Linked DNA regions of Homo sapiens: region 2 is linked to region 1. Evidence: promoter capture Hi-C in human tissues and cell types (Jung and others, 2019). All regions are on one chromosome and are shown on one strand. The core of a region is centred on a gene start or on the middle of the fragment in contact, and the rest is flanking DNA. Distances in the headings are between cores, read along the strand shown. Region 1 holds the start of SLC9A5 (solute carrier family 9 member A5). Region 2 overlaps CBFB (core-binding factor subunit beta).

What was found. The method cuts DNA at HindIII sites, captures the fragments that hold promoters and counts their contacts. A contact is called where the count stands out against the background at its distance.
Region 2: a contact is called between a fragment that was not itself captured here and the fragment with the promoter of SLC9A5 in region 1, in 2 of the 25 tissues and cell types used here (dorsolateral prefrontal cortex and hippocampus).

What each region holds. Positions count from the first base shown.
Region 1 is chr16:67,247,349-67,250,880 of GRCh38, reverse strand. It overlaps SLC9A5 (solute carrier family 9 member A5), which reads right to left and starts at 1,902. Exons shown (of 16, transcript NM_004594.3): 1 at 1,680-1,902. The coding sequence starts at 1,866. It overlaps FHOD1 (formin homology 2 domain containing 1), which reads left to right and starts at 3,400. Exons shown (of 22, transcript NM_013241.3): 1 at 3,400-3,532. The coding sequence starts at 3,471. RefSeq lists enhancers at 1,164-1,663, 1,664-2,165 and silencers at 1,841-1,950, 2,251-2,340, 2,361-2,450, 3,093-3,462. The HindIII fragment of the contact is 10,180 bases long and covers 1-3,532 here.
Region 2 is chr16:67,044,855-67,048,464 of GRCh38, reverse strand. All of the region lies in intron 3 of CBFB (core-binding factor subunit beta), which reads right to left. Among named protein-coding and RNA genes, the nearest start is that of CBFB, 18 kb to the right of the region's middle. The HindIII fragment of the contact is 7,078 bases long and covers 1-3,610 here.

The DNA of each region.
Region 1 (3,532 bases), core at 653-3,152:
GACCACAAGCGAACACATCTCTCTCTACATAATCCCTGGGGTGTTGGGGAAGGAGACCTCTAAATTAGCCTCTGTGAGACCCTATGCCAAGACAGTGCCCTTTGGAAGCTGTACCCAAAGGGCCTAGAACAGTGCCTGGCACATAGTGAGCTCTATGTAAATATTTGTTTAATAAAAGGGAAAAAGTCTCCTAGCAATGAAGCTGGGGGAAGGTGTTCCTGAATGCTCTGCCTTTTCTCTTGTTCGAGGATTTTCTTTGACTTGTGAAAAGGAGGCTCTCTTCTCTTACTTCCATAGGAAATGTCATCCAAACTAGAAAAAGAACCATGATTTATGGGGAAAACTACAGTTTTTGCTATAAACCCTAAGACAGGAACTCTTCTGCAACTCACAGACTTAGCAAACCCAATCGTTGGCTCCAAACCTGAGGCTCTTTCTACTCTTACTCTCATTGCTGCTGGACCTCTAAGGTAAACATGGTCATAGATCTCTCCATACTTGTCCCTACTTTGGTCTCCCACTTCTCTCCTTCGGGGACCCTATTTCATCTTCATCTCTTCATGCATTAACCCCAGCCCCGAGATCCAAGCCCCATCACAGAACCACGCTCCCGGAAGGCATATTGAGTTCCACTTTCCATTATTAATCTCAGGCTGCCACAGCAGAGTGGAGAGTTCTGTTCCTGCCCAGCCCCCTCACCCCCTAGCAGTGTCCATGTGGGAGAAGAGGGGCAAATTCTAGGCTCTGGGTGATTCCTCCATGAAGGCTGTATTGGTGAGACTGGAGTACAGGCTGTGCCAGCATCCATGGGGAGAGAGTAGCAACGCTCAGCTATAATTAGTCACCCCCACAGCAGAGCCAGCACAACAGGGAGAAGGAGGAGGGTCTCTGGTGGGAGGAGGGACCACTGGCTGCTCAGAAGGGAGGAGGAAGGAGCAGATGCAAGGAAAAGCAGCTCTATTCAGGGAAAAAGAAGTCTGAAGCACAGCCTTCAATGCTGTCAGGACTGAAGAGGTCGGATGTATGAAAGCATCTAGGGTAGACAGCACACAGGAAGGCCCCGATACACGGAAGTTTCTTATACCCTGAAGTGAGAAGAATGTGGACCTGAACGTGGGTTGGGGGGGTACCCATACACAGGCACAAGAAGGCAGCAGCTTTAAGTGGGGAGCAGGGGAGAGCTGGAGGAAAAGTGGCAGTGTAGTTTCCCAAGGGAATGGACACTCGGACATGGTCTCCAGGGAAGGCTGCTTTTTCAGAACCAGGATGCCTGTGTTCTTGGGAGAACACCCTCCCCTCAATGTCCCCACACATCCTCACCAGCGACAGAGGTTTCTGGGAGGCTAGGGATTGGTGGGGGAGAGACCAGACTGAAGAGGGCCTACTGCAAGGGGAAGAGGGGAGCGGAGAGGGCAAAGGAGCCTACAGATGGAGTTGGGGAGAGCGGGGGACAGCCCTTCAGAAAGGCAAATCCTCAGAGCTCCCAGGGGAGAAGACAGGGACCTGGGACCCACAAGAAGCGATGCAGGAACTGGGCGAGAGCCCGGATTTGTGGAATCCAAACCTAAGTCCCAGCACCGTGCAAGAAGCCAGCCCCAATCTGAGGACCGAGGAGGTGGGGGTGTTGGGGGCGGGTCCGCCGCTGGCGGTCGGCCTGGCGCACGCACACACGCACTCACCGATTTTGGCCAGACTGGCCACCAGGATCCACAGGGCCACCAGGTAGGGCGCCTCCACCTCGTGCCACTGCCAGCGGAAGAGCTCTAAGCCTGGGGGAGGCTCGCCCGGGGACTCTGGCTTCTGGGTGGGCTCTTCGGCCGCCCCCGCCAGGGGCAGCGCGAGCAGGGACAGGGCGGCGCGCAGCATCCTGCCGCCTGCCCAGCCGCCCTCCCGGCACCGCACGGCCGCCGGCCCCGCGTCGCCGCCGCCACCTACCGGGCGCCCCCGCGTCACAGGCACGTGGGGCCCGCTCCCCCCAATCCCGGCTCCGATACCCCCAAGCCAGGTCCAGGCTCCGAGACCCTGCCTCGGACTCTCGTAGTCGGGGACTCTCTCCTCTTTCCTCCCTAAATCAGTCCCAGCTCCGGAAATTCCCCAGTGCAGCTCTCCCCCAAGTTCCACAACCTACTCCTTCGAGTCCGCGCCCCCAAACCTCCCCAAAACCGCCCCCACCAGATCCAGAGCGGTGCGCGGCCACGGCCCCCCTGGGGCAGCCCGCAGCGGGAAGGGCGGGGGTCTGCGGGGGGCGCGGTCAGGACGGGAGGGGCACGGCTCCTCCTCGGCCAGCGCTGCTGTGCGGCGAGCAGCACCCCCCTGGGACCAAGGCGCGGCCGGGTGCAAAACGCAGGGGACCGTGCTTGGCCGCCCTCCGCCCACGTTGCCAAGCCCAGGACCCCCTGCCGGCCCCCACCCGGACCTGAGCTGCGCACGCGCACTGGACGCTCCCCAAAGCAGTGACGGACAACGCTGCCCCCAACGTCCCAGAAACCCTAAGGCCCAGACTGGCCCAGCTCGTGCCAGGCGAAGAGGGAGGCTGTTCTTCATCTCCCAAACCAAGGGGCACCTGGCCCTCCCTTTCAGTCACACTACAGAGAACTGTCTCATCTCTTTGATGAAGCTGACAGGAACCTATGGAAAACCCAGCCTACTGATTCCCTTCAAACTAGGCGAGATGCACCCAACTTTTTCCAAATCTGAGGGGCATTCGGCTCATAGCGCCCCAAACAGAGGAGGACCGTCTCCACTTTTCATTCAGGCTGAGGGGCACCCATCCCACTTTTTCTCCAAAACTGAGGGGAACGTGTTCTATCTGCCCCCTCAAACTGACTCCTCCCAATCTTTTCCCAGAAAACTGAAGGGCATCCTTCCCTCTTCCTCCCACAACTAAAGGGAACTGATCCCACCTCTTCCTTCAAACTGGGTGGAATTTATTCTCACTTCTTGCTCCAAATTGAAGGGACCCCCTCTCACTGCTTTCCCTAAATGAGGAAACCACAGGGACTCACCCCTCAAATGGAAGGAATGAGGGCTATCTTGTCCCTCAACTGAGAGAGACCTGGCCGGCCACTATCTAAAGAAACTTCTGCCCCATCTGCCCTAACACCCCTCAAAGAGAACGCAGCCTCACTATCCCCAGACCAAAGAAAGCCTCCCCGCCTTCTGCGCGTTCTCGAAGGTGGGGCGCGAGCTCGGTTTTTCCCGCCCTCCTAGCCAGTGAACTAACGGGATTCCCATTGGGCCCTGTGAGTGGCTAGCGGCGGCCCCGCCTCCGGCAGTGGTTACCTCCTGGCGCGCACTCGGGGACTAATCTTGGCTCCACCCCCTTCCTCGGCCCCGCCTCCGTCTGGCCCCGCCCCTCCAGCCGCGTCCGGTCCGGCCGGGCCCGAACCGCGGAGCTACAGTGTGCTTTGAGTAGAAGCTGCACTGGGGCCGGGACTCGGAGGCGCGCTGCGTGAGCCGGCCGCAGAGCCATGGCGGGCGGGGAAGACCGCGGGGACGGAGAGCCGGTATCAGTGGTGACCGTGAGGGTGCA
Region 2 (3,610 bases), core at 445-2,944, 200 kb after region 1:
ATAAATAGCTTTTAAAAAAGTGAGTATAGTCTCACTGAGAATATGTGTCAGGAAGAACCAAAAAGCTCAATTCTCTCCCCTGGTCAACTGCCTGAATTTTCTTTTTTTCTTCATATCCAATGTTTTCATACAGAATATTCAGGATGGATATTTTAACCTTGGCCAATACATTTAAGGAAAATAAAAAATGTTTTAGGGGTTTTTTTTGTTATTTGTTTGTTTGGAGATGGAGCCTTGCTCTGTCACCCAGGCTGGAGTGCCGTGGTGCGATCTCTGCTCACTGCAACCTTTGCCTCCCAGGCCCAAGCAACTCTCCCACCCCAGCCTCTCTCAAGTAGCTGGAACCAGAGGCATGCGACACCACGCCTGACCAATTTCTGCATTTTTATTTTTATTTTTTTTGAGATGGAATTTTGTTCCCAGGCTGGAGTGCAGTGGCGCGATCTTGGCTCACTGCACCCTCTGCCTCCCAGGTTCAAGTGATTCTCCTGCCTTAGCCTCCCGAGCAGCTGGGACCAGAGGCACCCACCACCATGCCCAGCCAATTTTTGCATTCCTAGTAGAGACGGGGCTTCACCATGCTGGCCACGCTAGTCTTGAACTCCTAACCCCAGGCGATCCACCCGCCCTGGCCTTCCAGAGCACTGGGACCAAAGGCACGAGCCACGGCACCTGACCCAGTAAAAAAATGGCCAAGAAATGTTCTGGATAGCAAAGGGATGGATAGAAACTCAGGACTAAAAAGCTGGTGTGAATAAATATCCTAAAAAAAAAATTTAAAGGGTTCTCCCAAATGGCTCATTACTTAGAACACTGTTCTGCAAACAGGGCCACACGATTATTAGAAACTATCATTGTTATTATATGGAACAAACTTTGAACATCTATGATATGGGCAGATTTGTTTATTTGAAAACATCTACATTCTTCTAATGTAAATGTCGAAGTCACAAGTTTCTAGGCCATCCTTTTGTTTTAATCTGAAGATTAACCTGTCTTTACATCTGAAGTTTTAAAACACAAAAAGGCTCAGTACTGACTGCATACATGGGTAAAAGGTTTTTCATCCACAAAAACAACCTGCCAACCATCCCCAGACTCAGCCCTTTCCCTCTTAGGTACAGCCTGCATTAGAGTCCTGAAAGCACAGCAATACTGCCAAGAGGCACGTTTTATTTTTTTAAATAGTTTCCACACATGGCATTGAAGACATTTCAAATGGTATTTATTTATTGAGACAGAGTCTTGCTGTGTTGCCCAGGCTACAGTGCAGTGGCATGATCTCAGCTTATGCCTGGCTAATTTTTTTTTTTTTTTAGTAGAGACGGGGTTTCACTATGTTGGCCAAGCTGGTCTTGAACTCCTGACCTTGTGATCTGCCTGCCTTGGCCTCCTAAAGTGCTGGGATTACAGGTATGAGCTACTGCGCCCGGCCCTTCAAATGTTATTTAAAATTCTTAGTTCCTAAACACACATCAATTTGAGGAGGCCCAGCTTAAACTGAAAAGCTTATAACAGATAATACTTTCCAACTGTTCACGTGCATACTTTCATAAAAAAAGGAACAATAATTAAAGTCTACCATATCACTATTATACTTTAGCTTGTCTGTAGCTTCCAATCCTCTGTACAAAACTAAGCATCAAAGAATAATATTGAAGAAACAAAGTCTCTGCACCTGAAGGTAAACAGCATTTTTATGCTGTTAAAAAGAAATTACAAACGTTTTCTTCCCTGTAAGATGAGGATCACAAAAGTATCAGTGCATGTATGTCTGCATCAATTAGAACACTACCTGCAAGGGGGCATGAGGGAACTTTTTGAAGCAATGGTGAACTTTGGTGGTGGTTATACTACTGAATACACAGTTGTCACAGACTTGTACACTTAAAATAGGTGAACTGTACTACATGTAAATTATACCTCAATAATGCTGATTGAAAAACTACAAGTGAAAATGGGAAATAGTAAAACTAGGGCATAGCAGTGCTACAAAGAAATTAACATCTTCAGACAACAACATTTCAATAGTCTTTATCCTGGCAGCATTTGAATTAACCATTAAAAAAAAATGATGGGTACATGCCTGTAATCCCAGCACTTTGAGAGGCCAAGGCGAGAGGATTGCTTGAGTCCAGGAGTTTGAGACCAGCCTGGGCAACATGGTGAGACCCCCATATCTACAAAAAAATTACCTGGGCATGGTGGCGCGTGCCTGTGGTTCCAGCTACTTGGGAGGCTGAGGTGGGAGGATCGCTTGAGCCCAGGAGGCAGAGGTTGCAGTAAGCCAAGATCACACCACTGCACTCCAGCCTGGGTGACAGAGAGATATCTAGTTTCAAAAACAAACAAACAACAACAAAAAAGGCCAGGCACAGTGGCTCAGAGCGCCTATAATCCCAACACTTTGGGAGGCCAAGACAGGCGGATCACCTGAGGTCAGGAGTTTGAGACCAGCCTGGCCAAAATGGTGAAACCCCATCTCCAATAAAAACACAAAAATTAGCCAGGTGTGGTGGCGGGTGCCTGTAATCCCAGCTACTTGGGAGGCTGAGGCAGGAGAATCGCTTGAACCTGGGAGGCGGAGGTTGCAGTGAGCCAAGATTACATCACTGCACTCCAGCCTGGATGACAGAGCAAGACACTGTCTCAAAAAAAAAAAAAAAAATGTAGAAAGTAGAAGGAAGGAGGGGAAGAGTGAAGGATGCTCTTCTCAGACATATTATTTCTGCCTTCTCTCACTTGGAATATGTAATTCAGGAAAGGTCATGAAAGAGAATTTCACCTTTACACTAAAATGGAAATAATGCAATCCAAAAGAAGAGAAAACGGGACTTCACAATCTTCAAGTGCTTCAGAGGTGCATTTACCATGTATGCAGATTCACGTACTCTAACTGGAAGGTACTATGACATACTAATTTTAAAACATTTTAATTTTTTTTTTTTCAGACAGAGTCTTGCTCTGTTGCCCAGGCTGGAGTGTTGTGGTACAATCTCAGCCCACTGCAACCTCCGCCTCCCGGGTTCAAGCAATTCTCCTGCCTCAGTCTCCCAAGTAGCTGGGATTACAGGCACATGCCAGCATACCTGGCTAATTTTTTGTATTTTTAGTAGAGGTGGGGTTTCATCACGTTGGCCAGTCTGGTCTCGAACTCCTGACCTCAGGTGATCCACCTGCCTCGGCCTCCCAAAGTGCTGGGATTACAGGCATGAACCACCCCACCTAGCCAAAACATTTTAATTTTTTCAGAAAGTCGACTTCCTCTCTTAGATTGAAAAATAACTAAAATAACTAAAATAAAAACTTTTCTTTAAAAATACAAACGCTCTGCCAGCTACAAAGGTGTCAAATATATATATATATATAAGCTTGCAGTTACCAGTTCTAAATTTTATGATTCCGTTATTATTAGAGTATTATAGTTTATCTAAAGCATATTTTTAAAAACCAGATTTCAATACACTAAACTGTCAATAACTAAGTGCTGTCAATTCATATTTTAGTCGAACTGAAATACTTAAAATCCAGATGTGACAAGGTATTTGTAAAGTTGTCTAATTTCTCTTGAAGAAAATCACACTCCAAAGCTTTACCATAGAGATCTTTT